2 separate regions of the Homo sapiens genome follow, and region 1 is linked to region 2. Evidence: promoter capture Hi-C in 16 types of primary human blood cells and fetal thymus (Javierre and others, 2016). All regions are on one chromosome and are shown on one strand. Each heading gives the region's core, a stretch centred on a gene start or on the middle of the fragment in contact. The rest is flanking DNA. Distances are from core to core; before and after follow the strand shown. Region 1 holds the start of LRRCC1 (leucine rich repeat and coiled-coil centrosomal protein 1). Region 2 overlaps WWP1 (WW domain containing E3 ubiquitin protein ligase 1).

Region 1 (4,694 bases), core at 763-3,262, 1.3 Mb after region 2:
ATTCTATCACGGTTTTGCTGTGTGATTTGAGCAAATGACAACCTGAGCCTCAGTTTTCTTACCTCAATTAATTCTCACAATAACTCTAAGCAGTGGGTATCTTAAGGATACCTAAATTTATGGAAATTAAATAGCTTGCCCAAATTCTTGCAGCTAACAGAGCATATGTAAATCCAGATCTCATGCTGGAGATTATAACTTTATTTTCTTCTTTGTGTGCAATAGCTATTTAATCCACAGTCTATTGCATTTTCAAAAACAAACCATGTTATTGCAATTCCTATTGAAAAAGTCCCTGTCCTCCCTTGTTGAAAGTTAATGGATCTCCCCTAAACAGAACTCATCTCTTCACTCCAATTACTATTTATAACTGAAGCTTCTCCTGAAGATAGTAGTTCCAGGAACACAAACTACAGCATACACAGTTTGGAGTTGCTAGATGGGAGATACACCCAGGAACACACAATGTCACGGGCATCTGCTGTAGGTTGAGTAGCAGCTATCTTACAGCTGTAGGAAACCTAACTCTGACAGCAGGGAAGCATTTGCAAATTTCAAACTAGCAACCTTTAAATGTGACTATCTGGGGCATTTCCCACTTATCCTGCTGTGTCATTTACTTGAGTTCTTATTTAGTGCCAGACCTTATGCTGTTAACACATGCTCTTAATGACAGTCATTTACTTTCTGACACATTTCAGTTTCTCGACATTAATAATGTGCAGATAATGTGAGATAGAAAAAGCATAGTGAAATTAGACGGAAAATGGGTTTGAATCCGAACTTAATTCTTCATGAAGTGTATAAAGATGAACAAATTGTCAATAGATTCTGAGTCTCATTCATCACTTGTAAATGAGAAAAATTACTACCTTGTAGAATTGCTGTGAGGATTACTGATAATGTATATAACATGCACACAACAGATAGCATTCAGTAAATGGCAGCTAGTATTAAATAGAAATGTAAAATGTCCCTTGAACAGCATCTTCTTGGGATCATCTGGCAAAGTTTAAATCAGAATCCAGAACAAGATGCTTAATTATCAGTAGCAGAGTTCGCGTAGAGGACACGCTACAAAGGAACAGCATGTGCAAAGGCACAGAGAAGTCTGCTATGGAATTGCCTGTAGCTCAGTACAGGTAAATAAAGTGTAAGTGGAGAAATGTTACGGGTCGAGACTAAAGAGCCTGAAATGCAGGTGGAGACCTGCTTTACAGTATTACAGAACCAAGTGCCTCATATGCTTTGCACAAGTCAGGGCTTCAAGAGAGAGGGAAACGATGAACTAAATATAGTAAGTTTAGTACTTTCAAAAAGTATATGAATATATGTATTGCAATGTTCTGTAACGGACAAATGATTTCGAATGCAGACAAGGAGAACTGAGGCAAAACTAACAGGCAGCAGCGACTGCCCGCTCATAGCTGCCAGAGATACTATCCTGCAGGTTTTTTTCAGAGGTAAGAACAGGAAAGACGAGAGAACACGAGAAAACCAGCAATTAAACGGCAAGCAAAGGAATAACCACCAGTAAGTAAGGAAAACCAGCAGAAGGAAAGAGTGGTCAGAAGCTGGTGGAGGACAAGGTCCTGGGGCAGTTTCTAGGCTAAGCAGAGTCGTGTGAAACGCTGGGCAGGAGACACGGGCGGGAAGGCATCCACGGCTCATTCAACCTGGCACTTCGGCAGGTAAGTTTTGGAGGAGCGGGGAGGCCGAAAGCCAGACTGCGTTCACTTATGGTCTTGGTAAAGCAGTGCCGCGCCTCCACTCTGGTGTCGCCGCCAGCCACTCGTGGCCCCGGCTCTGGGGAGTGCGCGGGTCGCTCCTGGCTGCGGAGCGCCCTTTACCTCTGCAAGCCTTTGTCCATGAAGCATACATCCCCGCAGCTGCTGTCGCCGTCTTCGTTTTCCACTTCCGCCTCTGCCGCCACCACCGCCGCCGCCGCCTCCATAGCACTGGCGACGGGGAGCGGGGTCTTAACCGGCACCCAGCGAGGGGTCCGTGAGCTTGGGACAAGCCTCCCGGAAGCGCGGAAGGGCGGCCCGAGGGGGCGGGGCGGGGCGAGGACCCACCCTCCAACCGACAGCCGGGAACTTTCCCGCCTTGACGGTGACGCAAAACTGGAATCCTCGTCCCAACTGTGGGCTTCTTTCGTTTTTACAGCATCTGCGGTGCGACTCTTGAACTTGCTGTAAAGTAAAACTGCTTCCCGGGCGTGTAGGAGCTGGAGAATGAATGGATTTGTCCTGTGTGCTTCTGTATATTTGCCTAGTAGCCGACTGACTTCTGAAGGCGGTTTTCACAGCGGTTTGGCTTTACGTGCCTTTACATAGCCTTACATACGTATAAATTGTTCCTCTGGCCATTGCACCTCCTGTTGATTCATTGAACAATTTGTGGGATGCCTTACTGTATGTCAGTCACTTCCCTGTATGAGGAAGAAAAAGATGAAGCCTATTCTTGTTCCTGGAAACATTCGCAGCCCCATAGAGGAAACAGAATTGCCATACAGTATGACGAATGCTAAGAATAACACAAGGGCATCGAAACCAACTCTAGAGTGATATGGGTAGTGGGTACGTTTTCTAAAAGAAGTGATTGATGACTGAATAGAGTCTTGCTGGGTTAGGGGGAGTTCTGGATGAATGGCATTACAGGTGGGAAAGCAATACCTGTGTGAGGTCAAATAACCCTCCTGGCTAGATTGCTTCCTAAGGCATAGTAATATTTTAAAACGGAGCAAATGGTGCAGTAGTCCATTTGAAGTGGACTATTTCCTTTTGAAATAACTCATATAGACAAAAATAAAAAAGATGTTTTAAAAAATGAGCAAAACCCACATGACATGTAGGACACCATAAAGTGACCAAATATTCAAAATTTTGGAGTCTCAGAAGGCAAAGAGAAAACAATAGAGTTGGAAAAATGGTTCAACAAAATACTATATGAAAACTTCCCAAGTCTAGCAAGAGATTTAGACACCCAGGCACAGGAGGCCAAAGGTTCCCAAACAGATACAATGCAAAAAGGTTTTCTTTTAAAAAAAATTTCATCTCACTTTTTATTTTAGATTCGGGGGTACATGTGCAGGTTTGTTACATAAGTATATTGCACGATGCTGAGGTTGTGGCTTCTAATGATCCTGTAACCCAAATAGTAAATATAGCGCTTGATAGGTAGTTATTCAACTCTTGCCTTCCCCCTTTTGGAGTCCCCAGTGTCTATTGTTCCCATCTTTGTGTTCATGTGTATCCAGTGTTTAGCTGCCACTTGGAAGTGAGAACATATGGTATTTGGTTTTCTGTTTCTGTGTTAATTCACTTAGGATAATGACCTTCAGCTGCATCCATATTGCTGCAAAGGACATGATTTTGTTCTTTTTTATGGCTGCATGTTGGTGTATATGTGCCACATTTTCTTTATCCAGTCTATCATTGATGGGCATCAGGGCTCATTCCATGCCTTTGCTACTGTGCTGCAATAAACATATGAATGCGGGTGTCTTTTTGGTAAAACAATTTATTTTTCTTTGGCTAGATACCTGGTCATGGGATTCCTGGATTGAACGGTAATTCTATTTTTAGTTCTTTGTGAAATCTCCAAACTGCTTTCCACAGTGGCTGCAATTTGCATTCCCACTGATGGTGTGTAAGCATTACTTTTTCTCTGCAACCTCACTAACATCTCATATTTTCTGACTTTTTAATAAAACCCACTCTGACTGCTGTGAGATGATATCTTATTATAGTTTTGATTTACATCTCTCTGATTATTAGTGATGTTGAGCATTTAAAAATATGTTTCTTGGCTGCTTGCATGTCTTCTTTCGCAAAAAAGAAAAGAAAAGAAAAAGTCTCCTTTATGGCCCATTGTAGTCAAACTGATAAAAGTCAAAGACAAAGAATTCTAAAAACAGCAAGAGAAAAACATCTAGTCATTTATAAGGGAACCCTCAACAAACTAACAGTGGATTTCTCACCAAAAACTTTACAAGCCGGCAGAGAATGGTATGATAAATTCAAAGTGCTGAAAGAAAAAACAGCCAGCCAAGTACTCAACAAAGTTATCCTTCATAAACCAAGGAAAAATAAAGTCTTTCCAAGATAAGCAAAAGCAAAAGAATTCATCACCAGTCGACTGGACCTATAAAAATGCTCATGAGAGTCTTACATATGGAAACAAAAGGACAATATTTACCAGCATGAAAACACACAAAAATATAAAGTCCACTGGTAGATCAAACACACAAGAAAGAGAAAGGACTCAAATGTTACCATTACAGAAAACCACCAAACCACAATCATAAACAATGATAGAGAAGGAAAGGAACAAGGAATACACAAAAATAACCAGAAATGGATTAATAAAATGACAGGAATAAGCCCTCACGTATCAATCATGACCTTATGCAAATGGAATAAATTTTCCACCTGGAAGATATAGCTTGAATTAATGGATTAAAAAATGACCCAACAATAGTCTGCTTAGAAGAAACTCATCACACTTGTAAAGACACATATGGACTGAAAGTAAAGGGAAGAAAAAAGATATTTTATGCAAATGGAAACCAAAAGCCAGCAGGAATAGCTATATGAATATTAGATACAATAGACTGTAAGTTAAAAATAGTAAAAAAGAGACAAGAAAGGTCACTATGTAATGATAAAGGGATCGGGCACAGTGGCTCATGC
Region 2 (4,226 bases), core at 1,684-4,183:
AATGTGGCAAAGATAAAAATGGATGAACCATGCAGTCTCCCCCCTCAATAGAGCAACTCCAAAGCATAAAATAAATATTTCATTAAAATGTAAACTACAAAATAGAGGACTTAATTTTAAATTAAATTATATATACGAATATAGTAATATTACTTCTACATAGAAATACTGGTCATTTCAATGAATTTATAAAATGAAAGAGTAAACAGGAGGGTGACCAACTCGTCCCAGTTTGCTCAGGAGCATCAGGTTTTAAACTTGCATCCTGGGAAACCTCTCAGTTCTGGCCAAACTGGGATTTTTGATAATCCTAGTGAACAGTGTAATGGCTCTAACTGCCTAGACAGCTCTCTTGATGTATCTCAAAGAAACTTTTCTAGTGGAATCCTGTTATAAAAATATAATTCTGTTAGATTTTTCATTTCCATGTGACCTGCAAATTCAGAAAGGAAAAACCAATTTGATAGGAACTACTCATCACTAAGGCTCAAAATCATATCACTGGAACTACATGTCAGGAGAAGGGAAGAGGGAAGAGTAAGAGGCTTTCTCAATACCCAGGGTCTTTTAGCCCTCCGAATCATTTACTTTTAACAGACTCTCTGTCCATATCATCACCACTGATCTCCCTAATCAAAGACATTTCCAACTAGTGCTACTGTTCTTCCCTGGCCCATGCCATCACCCATCATCCCCATGCCATCATACCCCAAGCCATCACAGCCTCTGCATCTATGCCAACAACTCACCCTTCCTGTATCTTGCTGATCTCCATTCCATTCACTAGCTCATATGGCCCCATCCTGAACTTGATGGGTCCTATTCTTCCCACAATCTCCCACTAGGAATCTCTACCACTGCACTCTTCCCTTAGAATTGGTCTGCTTAACTCAGGAACTACAGTCTCTCCAGCACTCTCCGGCATCCCTTCACTGTAGGGGACCTACTGGCAATGTCATTAATACTTTACATTTGCGAAGCACTTCATAGTTTCAAATTTTCACATACGTTATGTCAAGAAAACAGGCTAAGTACAATTGTTTCCAATTTTACCAGTGCCACGTTAATATCACTTTTCACTTCTATCTCCCATTGGGCTTTTCTTCCCAGGTTCTGTCTTTATTGTGCCTTTCTCTCTCCCTTCAAATAAACTTGGTGTTCTCAATGTATACATCTAACTATTTGGGAAAGAAGCTATGTGATTTCTTTTAAAGCTTTTTATATATAAATAGAGACAGGGTCTCACTATTTGCCCAGGCTAGTCTTTAACCTCTGGCCTCAAGTGATCCTCCCACCTGGGCCTCCCAAAGTGCTGGGATTACAGGCATCAACCACTGTGACCCGCCAAAAAATTAAAGCTTTCTTGTCCACACTTGACCTCTCCCTATATCACTGATTGATCCATTCATATTCAAAACACAAGAATGCCCCTCTCCTGATAACTTACAAGTGTGCTGCAGAGTAAAACAGAATAGCACTTCTGAGCTGTACCATTCCAGTGATTTGAAGAGTACTTGCAATATCTACCAGACAAATAACAAATAAACATGGAATCTACAGGTACCTTTTAGCCTCTGACTTTAATTTGGGTGTTTATTTTAAACACCCAATAAATGTGGAACCTAAAAGGTATTGAAGCCTAAAAATGCCTATCTAACCACAGAATCTAATAACTTCGACTATCTTCCCTCCATCTTTCTGTATTTTTAGTCAATTTCAAAGTTCCTTTCAGTGCACAATATATGGCCCTTTAGGAAGTATTTCTATGAGAAAAATGTATTTTTCTTCAAAAGGCCCAATTTCCTAAGTTAGTATGAATACCCAATTCTTACTATTCGTTATCACCCAATTTCAGATTTTCAACCAGAGGGAGTTAATACATTAATTTTTAATTAACGTTAATACATAGATTTTTTTCTGAGCCTTTTGGTTCTGTTTTCTCTTACTCTCTAATTTTTACATCTTCTTTTCCAGTAACATAAATCTAGTCCTTGTTTCTTGACTTTTCTTTTTCAGATATATCTCACATCTCCCCTATCATAAATGCACTCTCTTCCTATTTTTCAGCCACTTCATTTTCTTATAGAAAGTGAGTTTCTACTCAATTGTATTTTTAATTTTTAATTTTACTTTATTTTCTCTCTTTCTTTCTTTCTCTCTTTCTTCTTTCTCTCTCTCTCTCTCTCTCTCTCTTTCTTTCTTTCTTTCTTTCTTTCTTTCGAGGCAGGGTCTCACTTTTGTCGCCCAGGATAGAGTGCAGTGGCATAATCATGGCTCACTGTAGGGTCTAACTATTGGACTCCTGCTATCCTCCTGCCTGAGACTCTCAAGTAGTTGACACTACAGGCACGCACCACCATGCCTGGTTAATTTCTTTGTTTGTTTTTTGTAGAGATGGGGTCTATGTTACCCAGGCTGGTCCAGAACTCCTTAGCTCAAGTGAGCCTCCCACCCCAGACTCCCAAAGCACTGAAATATTTTTTATTTTTAAAGATTTATTCCTCTCAAACAATTACACAGAAAACTCTTCTGCTTTACAGTACATTACCTCAAAATTTACCTCTCATTAACATGTATAATGTAAGCAAAACATATTCTTACATTAAAATGCACCATACATATCACAGTTTTGAGTATGAAGCACCAAATCTTGATTTTTCTGTAGATTCCCTTTTTAATGCCAATTTTAACCATTTCTAAGCTATATGAAAGCCTTGTTCTCAAAATTATTCTATGACCCACCTACTCTAAACTATTAGTTACATAATGAATACAAATTTATTTCTCTCCCTCAAAGCAACCAACACATAAAATTCACTTTATTTACAGAAATTCAAGTCCAATAGCTAGTGAAGCTATTTAACTCAATTCTCTTTTCATTCTCATTAATTCTAATCAAGTACATTTTTGAGTACTTTAAATTCCATCTATGTCCTTGCCTTCTAAATAGCCCTGCATCACAGCAAGGCTTCAGTCACACCAGAAAATATGATCAGAGCAATTTAATGTGCTCTTCTTATCAGGGTTCTTGTCCCAATTAATGAGAAAAGTTACAATTACATACCCAAAGCAAAACTAACTAACCACCCTTTCAAGGAAAATGTGTTTCACGTACACTACTTTTGTCATTTTAGTGACAAAGCACTAAAAATACTTCCTGGCACAGAATAAATACCTAATAAATAAAATCAGCAAGACCACAGACAAATTTCTTTTTTTTTTTTTTTTTTTTGAGATGGAGTCTCACTCTGTCACCCAGGCTGAGTACAGTGGTGCGATCTCGGCTCACTGCAACCTCTGCCTCCCAGGTTCAAGTGATTCTCCTGCCTCAGCCTCCTGAGTAGCTGGGGCCACAGGTGCCCACACCCGGCTAATTTGTTTATTTTTCGTAGAGACGGGGTTTCACCATGTTGGCCAGGCTGGTCTTGAACTCCTGACCTCAAGTGATCGGCCCACCTCGGCCTCCCAAAGTGCTGGGATTACAGGAGTGAGCCACCATGCTCGGCCCATAGACATATAATTTAACCTCTTTCAGTAGCCTTTGTTAAAAAAAAACTTATGGGAAGCCATTGTTTTTGGACTAAGCTCCTGCACTAGGCCCCAAAAGACCAGACCAAGACAAAATGAAGCCACCCATGCTAAATGCCACATAATCAAACTAAAAGTTCAAGGAAGCAGACAGTTAAAGCAGACCAGCAGACCAGCTTTCCCTAAAAACAGGTAACAGTCTGACTGAGTCAACATAATAAGGAATTCCCCTCTGCTTTAATCCTTACAAAAAAGTAACCTGACATTAACCAGTCAGCTTTTTTTGTTGTTGTTTCCTCGTCCCCATCTCACAAAACCCAGTGTTCTGCCACTACCCAGCAGAAGTTCTCATTCCATATTGTAGAATGGAGACTGCCCCATTCATGGATCATGAATAAAAGCCAATTTGATCTGTAACTAAATTTGTGATAATTTTGTTTTTTGATACCTTCAAGGTAAGATTATATAAGCACTTTATGAATTATCGAGTACTATATAAATGCTAAATTATTAAGCATGAGAAAAATATTAAATAATATTAAATACGAGAAACAATTTTCAATAATGAAAGTTAAATAATGCATTTATAGAAAAATGCAGATAGTCCTGCTATATTTATCTGATTTGTATCTGTTAATTCTAAACACTGAGGTGCTTTTGAGATACTAATCCCAGCTTTTATTTTAAATAATTTCTGA

Evidence for each region. The method cuts DNA at HindIII sites, captures the fragments that hold promoters and counts their contacts. A CHiCAGO score of 5 or more calls a contact.
Region 1: the fragment with the promoter of LRRCC1 here is called in contact with a fragment that was not itself captured in region 2 in 1 of 17 cell types (activated CD4 T cells); the score reaches 6.1 in activated CD4 T cells.

What each region holds. Positions count from the first base shown.
Region 1 is chr8:85,104,556-85,109,249 of GRCh38, reverse strand. It overlaps LRRCC1 (leucine rich repeat and coiled-coil centrosomal protein 1), which reads right to left and starts at 2,012. Exons shown (of 19, transcript NM_033402.5): 1 at 1,851-2,012. The coding sequence starts at 1,954. It overlaps LOC105375933 (a long non-coding RNA gene), which reads left to right and starts at 1,388. Exons shown (of 3, transcript XR_929117.3): 1 at 1,388-1,691. RefSeq lists an enhancer at 1,841-1,900. The HindIII fragment of the contact is 5,185 bases long and covers 379-4,694 here.
Region 2 is chr8:86,362,801-86,367,026 of GRCh38, reverse strand. The region is part of intron 1 of WWP1 (WW domain containing E3 ubiquitin protein ligase 1); the gene reads right to left. Among named protein-coding and RNA genes, the nearest start is that of WWP1-AS1, 20 kb to the right of the region's middle. The HindIII fragment of the contact is 3,145 bases long and covers 1,361-4,226 here.